Regions from separate parts of the Homo sapiens genome. Here region 1 is linked to region 2. The links are contacts of gene promoters, found by promoter capture Hi-C in human tissues and cell types (Jung and others, 2019). All regions are on one chromosome and are shown on one strand. The core of a region is centred on a gene start or on the middle of the fragment in contact, and the rest is flanking DNA. Distances in the headings are between cores, read along the strand shown. Region 1 has its middle 7.0 kb from the start of RRAS. Region 2 holds the start of HSD17B14 (hydroxysteroid 17-beta dehydrogenase 14).

Region 1 (3,402 bases), core at 476-2,975, 800 kb before region 2:
CCTCCGCCTCTTGGGTTCATGCCATTCTCCTGCCTCAGCCTCCCGAGTAGCTGGGACTACAGGCGCATGCCACCACGCCCCCAGCTAATTTATTTTTTGTATTTTTAGTAGAGGCGGGGTTTTACCATGTTAGCCAGGATGGTCTCAATCTCTTGACCTTATGGGTATTTTCTTGGGATAAACTTTGAACATCTGATGAAGGAATTTTTTTTCCTAGAAAGTTATAGAATGCGCTCTTCAATATGGTAGGCAGAAGCTACATGTGGCTATTTAAATTAAAATTAAATAAAATTTGGCTGGATGCAGTGGGTTATGCCTGTAATCCCAGCATTTTGGGAGGCTGAGGTGGGCAGATCGCTTAATCTCAGGAGTTCGAGACCAGCCTGGGCAATAAAGTGAGACCCCCCCCCGCCCCCATCTCTACCAAAAATACAAAAATTAGCTGGGTGTGGTGGCACATGCCTGTAGTCCCAGCTACTCAGGAGGCTGAGGTAGGAGGATCGCTTGAGCCTGGGAGACAGAAATTGCAGTGAGCCAAGGTGATGCCACTGTACTCCAGCCTGGGCGACAGCAAGACTGTCTCAAAAAATAAATAAATAAAAAATAAAAAAAATAAAAATAAAGGCCAGGCGCGATGGCTCACGCCTGTAATCCCAGCACTTTGGGAGGCCCACGCGGATGGATCACCTGAGGTCGGGAGTTCAAGACCAACCTGACCAACATGGTGAAACCCTGTCTCTATTAAAAATACGAAAATTAGCCGGGCGCATTGGTGGGCGCCTGTAATCCCAGCTTCTCAGGAGGCTGAGACATGAGAATAGCTTGAACCCGGGAGGTGGAGTTTGCAGAGAGCCGAGATTGTGCCATTGCACTCTAGCCTGTGCAACAGAGCGAGACTCCGTCTCAAATACAACAACAACAACAAAATAAAAAATATTTTAATAAAACTTAGTTCCTCAGTCAAATCAACATTTCAAGACCTCAGTTGTCACATGTGGCTAGTGACTTTTTTTTTTTTTAGACAAGAGTCTCGCTCTGTCACCCAGGCTGGAGTGCAGTGGCAGGATCTCCAGTTGCTGCAACCTCTGTTTCCTGGGCTCAAGTGATTCTCCTGCCTCAACCTCCTGAGTACCTGGGACTACAGGCGCATGCCACCATGCCCGGCTAATTTTTGTATTTTTGGTAGAGACGGGGTTTCGCCACGTTGGCCAGACTGGTCTGGAACTCCTGGCCTCAAGTGATCTGCCCACCTCGGCCTCCCAAAGGGCTGGGATTACAGGCGTGAGCCACCGCACCCAGCCTCTAGTGGCTATCTTAATAGATAGGGCAGATAGACAACATTCCTATCATTGCTGAGTGGGCTATTGGATAGTGCTTTCTAGAACATTCCAATAGAACGTTCTAGGACATTGGAGACAGGCAGCAACTCAGCTGGGTGTGGTAGCTCACGCTTGTAAGCCCAGTACTTTGGGAGACCGAAATGGGTGGATCACTTGAGGCCAGGAGTTTGAGACCAGCCTGGGCAAGAGCTAGACTCTGTCTACAAAAATAGAGACAGGGAGCAACTGCTACAAACCCTGCCTGTCCCACTCTCACCTTCAATGTATATCGAGAAGGGACAGGTGGGTGGAATGGTGTCCAAGCAGCCGTCTGGCAAGTCCTCATTTTCAGAAAGTTCCCAGTAGCACTGAAATCTGAATCTAAACACTTAATCCAATTTGGGGTCAGTGTGGACATCCCCCATCCAACCCCCTATTCTGTCCTGGGAGAAGCAGAAGTGTTGGGTGTCTTAAGGCCACAGTGGGTAAATGGATGACACACTTCAGTCTGGATACCCAAAGCCCATCTGTGTCCTAGGAACACTTCGTTTTTTACATTTTATTTATTTATTTGAGACAGGGTGTCACTGTGTTGCCCAGGCTGGAGTGCAGTCGCGTGATCACAACTCTGTAGCCTCAACCTCCTGGGCTCAAGCAATCCTCCTGCCTCAGCCTCCCAAGTAGCTGGGACTACGAGTGCACACTTGGCTAATTTTTCATTTTGTTGTAGAGATGGGGTCTCGCTATGTGGCCCAGGCTGGTCTTGAACTCCTCCCTTTAAGCAATCCTCCTGCCTCGGCCTCCCAAAGCTCTGGGATTTACAGGCATGATCCACCATGCCCAGCCTGGGGACACTTAGGACTCTCCCACATCCAACCTAAGCTCTGGTTGGGGGAGGAGCAGTCCTGCCCACTATTTGCTACCCTGGAAGGCTGAAGCCAACTGGAGACCACTGTCCACCCACCTCCCAAGCCTGTGTGACCGGCCATCTTTAAAGCCCCAAATCTACCCAACACACCAGGCTAAAAACCTCAACCGGCCGGGCGCGGTGGCTCATGCTTGTAATCCCAGCACTTTGGGAGGCTGAGGCGGGTGGATCACAAGGTCAGGAGATCGAGACCATCCTGGCTAACACAGTGAAACCCCGTCTCTACTAAAAATACAAAAAATTAGCTGGGCATGGTGGCAGGCGCCTATAGTCCCAGCTACTCAGGAGACTGAGGCAGAAGAATGGTGTGAACCCAGGAGGTGGAGTTGCAGTGAGCCGAGATTGCGCCACTGCACTCTAGCCTGGACGACAGAGCGAGAGTCCATCTCAAAAAAAACAAAAACAAAACAAAACACCTCAACCGAGATGTCCCGATGCCCTGAACTTGAGGCTCCACCTGAAACCTATCAGCAGTCAAACATCTGCTCCCTATACCCAGGCCCCTGATCCCTGAATGCTCTACTCGCACCCACCCTGGAACCTGCTTCCTAGTCCTAGGGTGGAGCATGGCCTTTGCGTGACCGGGATGCCTGAATTCAAATCCAGCTCTGCCACCTCAGTCTCATCTGTAAAATGGGGGTAAGTACAAAGCTACTTCACAGGGTGAGCACGAGACTAAAGGAGACGATTGCAGAGGAGGAATGAGCCCGGCGCATACTAAGTGCTCACCATCAATGACTGTGGCTGACATGTCTCCATTCTGCCCCAGAACCATGAATGTCCCTCTGTATCCCGGATTAGAACACGGATTAGCAGGCTGGGCGCAGTGGCTCACGCCTGTAATCCCAGCACTTTGGTAGGGCAAGGCGGGCGAATCACCTAAGGTCAGGAATTCGAGAGCAGCCTTGCCAACATGGTGAAACCCCCCTCTCTACTAAAACTACAAAAATTAGCCGGGTGTGGTGGCGGGCGCCTGTAATCCCAGCTACTTGGGAGGGTGAGGCATGAGAATCGCTTGAACTCGGGAGGCAGAGGTTGCAGTGAGCTGAGATCGTGCCGTTGCACTCCAGCCTGGGCAACAAGAGCGACACTCTGTCTCAAAAAAAAAAAAAAAAAAAAAAAAACTGATTAGCTAAATATCCCTTTCCGGGTTCT
Region 2 (3,666 bases), core at 634-3,133:
AAGCACATCATCGGGAATAGGGTATCCATCCCCTTTCAAGGATTTACCCTTTGATGTATAAACAATCTAGTTACACCCTTTAATTTATTTAAAAATGTACAATTAAATTATTATTGACTATAGTCATTCTGTTGTGCTATCTAATAGTAGGTCTTATTCATCCTTTTCTTTTTGTACCAATTAACCATCCCCCACCTCTCCCCCATGTACACACCCCCACCCCCAATCTTCTTTTTTTTTCTAGTCCAAGGAACACCACCCCTTACTTGCCGACTTCCGAAGGTCACCGGGAGCGGGTTCTCAGCCTCTCCCAAGCCCTGGCTACTGAGGCGTCGCAGTGGCACAGAATGATGACAGGTGACTGGCTGGGGATGTTGGACTTCTGGGTTTTAGGGAGGAGAGAGCTGGAGACCTGGAATCCCAGGTCCTGGAGAGGAGGGGTCTGGGGGCCGGTGAGAATTTTTTATCTTGGTGAGTAAAGAGTTGGGCAGGGTTTGGGAGTTTTAGGTCTCAGGCAAGAGGTGACTGGGGTCCGGGACACTTGGGAGGAGGGGAGGAAGAGGTCAGGGGGCGGGGAGAGGGCCGACAACTGAGTCTCAAAGAGGACTGGACTGGCGTATCCAGACTCCTGGATCTGAGGGAGGAGGGGCTGGGGGCCTGGACTCCTGGGTCTGAGGGAGGAGGGGCTGGGGGCCTGGACTCCTGGGTCTGATGGAGGAGGGGCTGGGAATCCGGAGTCCTGGGTCTGAGGGAGGAGGGGCTGGGAATCCGGGGTCCTAGCGCTGAGGTTTGCCATTCTCATGTCCCACTCATCCTCTCCAGGTGGAAATTTGGACTCCCAGGGAGACCCTCTTCCCGGTGTGCCGCTGCCTCCTTCGGACCCCACGCGCCAGGAGACCCCTCCCCCCAGATCTCCCCCGGTGGCTAATTCGGGTTCCACGGGGTTCTCTCGCCGAGGGAGTGGGCGTGGAGGAGGTCCCACCCCCTGGGGGCCCGCGTGGGATGCCGGGATCGCCCCTCCGGTCCTGCCACAAGACGAGGGGGCATGGCCTCTGCGAGTCACTCTGCTACAATCCAGCTTCTAATCCGCCCAAAAGCGGCAGCCAATCGGAGCGCGAGGACGTGGTCTGGAGGTACCGCCGGAGATCTGGGACCACTCAGGGCATCAGGGGGCGTGGTCTGGTCCCCATTGCGGGCCCGGGAGGGGAATGGTTTCTATGGCCAAAGTTTGGTTTTCTCAACACTGTCTAAATTTGGATTAAAACTTTGAACTTTTAGTCAATAGCTTTCTTTCTGTCTGTCTGGGGTTGTGGCACTGGTGTCTCTGAGGGGCAGAGCTGGAGTCGTGGACTCCTGGGTCCTGAGAGAGGAAGGGACAGGGGGCTTGGACTTATAGGTCTCTGGGAAGAAGGGATAGAGAACCTGATCCCTCGGTCTGAGAGTGGAGGGGGCTGGGCCAGGATTCCCGGGTCTGAGGGAGGAAGGGGTGGGACCCTGACTCCTGGGTCTGAGGGAGGAGGGACTGGGAGGCTGGACTCCCGGGTCTGAGGGAGGAGGGGCTGGGACCCTGACTCCTGGGTCTGAGGGAGGAGGGGCTGGGAGGCTGGACTCCCGGGTCTGAGGGAGGAGGGGCTGGGAGGCTGGACTCCCGAGTCTGAGGGAGGAGGGGCTGGGGGCCTGGACTCCCGAGTCTGAGGGAGGAGGGACTGAGGCTTCTGGATTCCTGGGTCTGTGGGAGGAGGGACTGGGGCTCCTGGATTCCTGGGTCTGTGGGAAGAGAGGAGTGTCTGAGGGAGGAGGGGCTGGGGACAAACTTCCAGGTCTCTAGCCTTCCTGGCAACGCCCCCCGAGGCCGGACTTCCAGGATCCAGCCTCTATTGAGGATTTGATGCGACGGCCTCACGGGGCTTTGGAGGTGAAAGAGGCCCAGAGTAGAGAGAGAGAGAGACCGACGTACACGGGATGGCTACGGGAACGCGCTATGCCGGGAAGGTGGTGGTCGTGACCGGGGGCGGGCGCGGCATCGGAGCTGGGATCGTGCGCGCCTTCGGTGAGCCGGGTCTGACTGCTGGGAGCTGTGGAGTGTGAGAAAGGAAGGATGGGGGCGGGGTGATGGGGGCGGAAAATAGGGACTCCAGTACTGCAGCCAGGATTCTGATATTATAAAAGCCAATTTGCAGGCTAAAGTAAGCGTGTGGCGCTGTAGGCTAGGGCTGAGTCTGGCAGGGTCTCCGAAGGCAGTGGCCCCTTTCTCTGGGTCTGTTGGTGTAGCTACAAAACCAGTGGTTTGAGGAATGGCTCTGTCAGTCGTGGAGTTTGCTCCGGAAGCCACGAACGGGGGTTCAGGAGCCTCAGCAGAAACAAGGCAAGGAGAGTATGTGTCAAGGCGTCTGCCCTCTGTCCTATGGGTGATCATGAGACTGGGGTCACGAGGGGAGAGGGAGATCAGCCCCAATCCAGGTGGCCACAAGAGGGCGGCAGAGGCTTTAACCAAGGCTCGGAGAGTAACCTGTTCCCTTCCTATTCTCAGTGAACAGCGGGGCCCGAGTGGTTATCTGCGACAAGGATGGTGAGTGACGGTCCCTCAGCCCTCACCTTGGCCCTTCCTCCCTCAGACCCAGAGGTCCAGACCCCTAGCACCTCCTCCCTCAGACCCCGGAGTCCAGGCCCCCAGGCCCTACTTCCTCAGACCCAGGAGTCCAGACCTCAGCCCCTCCTCCCTCAGACCTAGGAGTCCAGGCCCCCAGCCCCTCTGCCCTCAGACCCAGGAGTCCAGGTCCCCAGCCCCTCCTCCCTCAGACCCAGAAGTCCAGGCTCCGGCACCTCCTCCCTCAGACCCAGGAATCCAAGTCCCCAACCCCTCCTCCTTCAGACCCAGGGGTCCAGGCTCCCAGCCCCTCTTCCCTCAGACCCAGGAGTCCAGGCTCTGGCACCTCCTCCCTCAGACCCAGGAGTCCAGGCCCCCAGGCCCTACTTTCTCAGACCCAGGAGTCCAGACCTCAGCCCCTCCTCCCTCAGACCCAGGAGTCCAGGCTCCCAGCCCCTCCTCCCTCAGACCCAGGAGTCCAGGCCCCCATCCCCTCCTCCCTCAGACCCAGGAGTCCAGGCCCCCAGCCCCTCCTCCCTCAGACCCAGGAGTCCAGGCTCCCAGCACCTCCTCCCTCAGACCCAGGAGTCCAGGCCCCCAGGCCCTACTTCCTCGGACCCAGGAGTCCAGACCTCAGCCCCTCCTCCCTCAGACCCAGGAGTCCAGGCCCCCAGCCCCTCCTCCCTCAGACCCAGGAGTCCAGGCTCCCAGCACCTCCTCCCTCAGACCCAGGAGTCCAGGCCCCCAGGCCCTACTTCCTCGGACCCAGGAGTCCAGACCTCAGCCCCTCCTCCCTCAGACCCAGGAGTCCAGGCCCCCAGCCCCTCCTCCCTCAGACCCAGGAGTCCAGGCTCCCAGCCCTTCCTCCCTCAGACCCAGGAGTCCAGGCCCCCAGGCCCTACTTCCTCGGACCCAGGAGTCCAGACCTCAGCCCCTCCTCCCTCAGACCCAGGAGTCCAGGCCCCCAGCCCCTCCTCCCTCAGACCCAGGAGTCCAGGCTCCCAGCCCCTCCTCCCTCAGACCCAGGAGTCCAGGCTCCCAGCCCCTCCTCCCTCAGACCCAGGAGTCCAGGCTCCCAG

Evidence for each region. The method cuts DNA at HindIII sites, captures the fragments that hold promoters and counts their contacts. A contact is called where the count stands out against the background at its distance.
Region 1: a fragment that was not itself captured here is called in contact with the fragment with the promoter of HSD17B14 in region 2 in 2 of the 25 tissues and cell types used here (aorta and dorsolateral prefrontal cortex).

What each region holds. Positions count from the first base shown.
Region 1 is chr19:49,631,456-49,634,857 of GRCh38, reverse strand. No RefSeq gene overlaps it. Among named protein-coding and RNA genes, the nearest start is that of RRAS, 7.0 kb to the left of the region's middle. RefSeq lists an enhancer at 1,783-2,282. The HindIII fragment of the contact is 5,234 bases long and covers 1-3,402 here.
Region 2 is chr19:48,834,708-48,838,373 of GRCh38, reverse strand. HSD17B14 (hydroxysteroid 17-beta dehydrogenase 14) reads left to right here and starts at 1,883. Exons shown (of 9, transcript NM_016246.3): 1 at 1,883-2,050; 2 at 2,531-2,569. The coding sequence starts at 1,963. It overlaps PLEKHA4 (pleckstrin homology domain containing A4), which reads left to right. Exons shown (of 20, transcript NM_020904.3): 19 at 245-357; 20 at 823-1,277. The coding sequence ends at 1,085. RefSeq lists a silencer at 906-975. The HindIII fragment of the contact is 14,395 bases long and covers 1-3,666 here.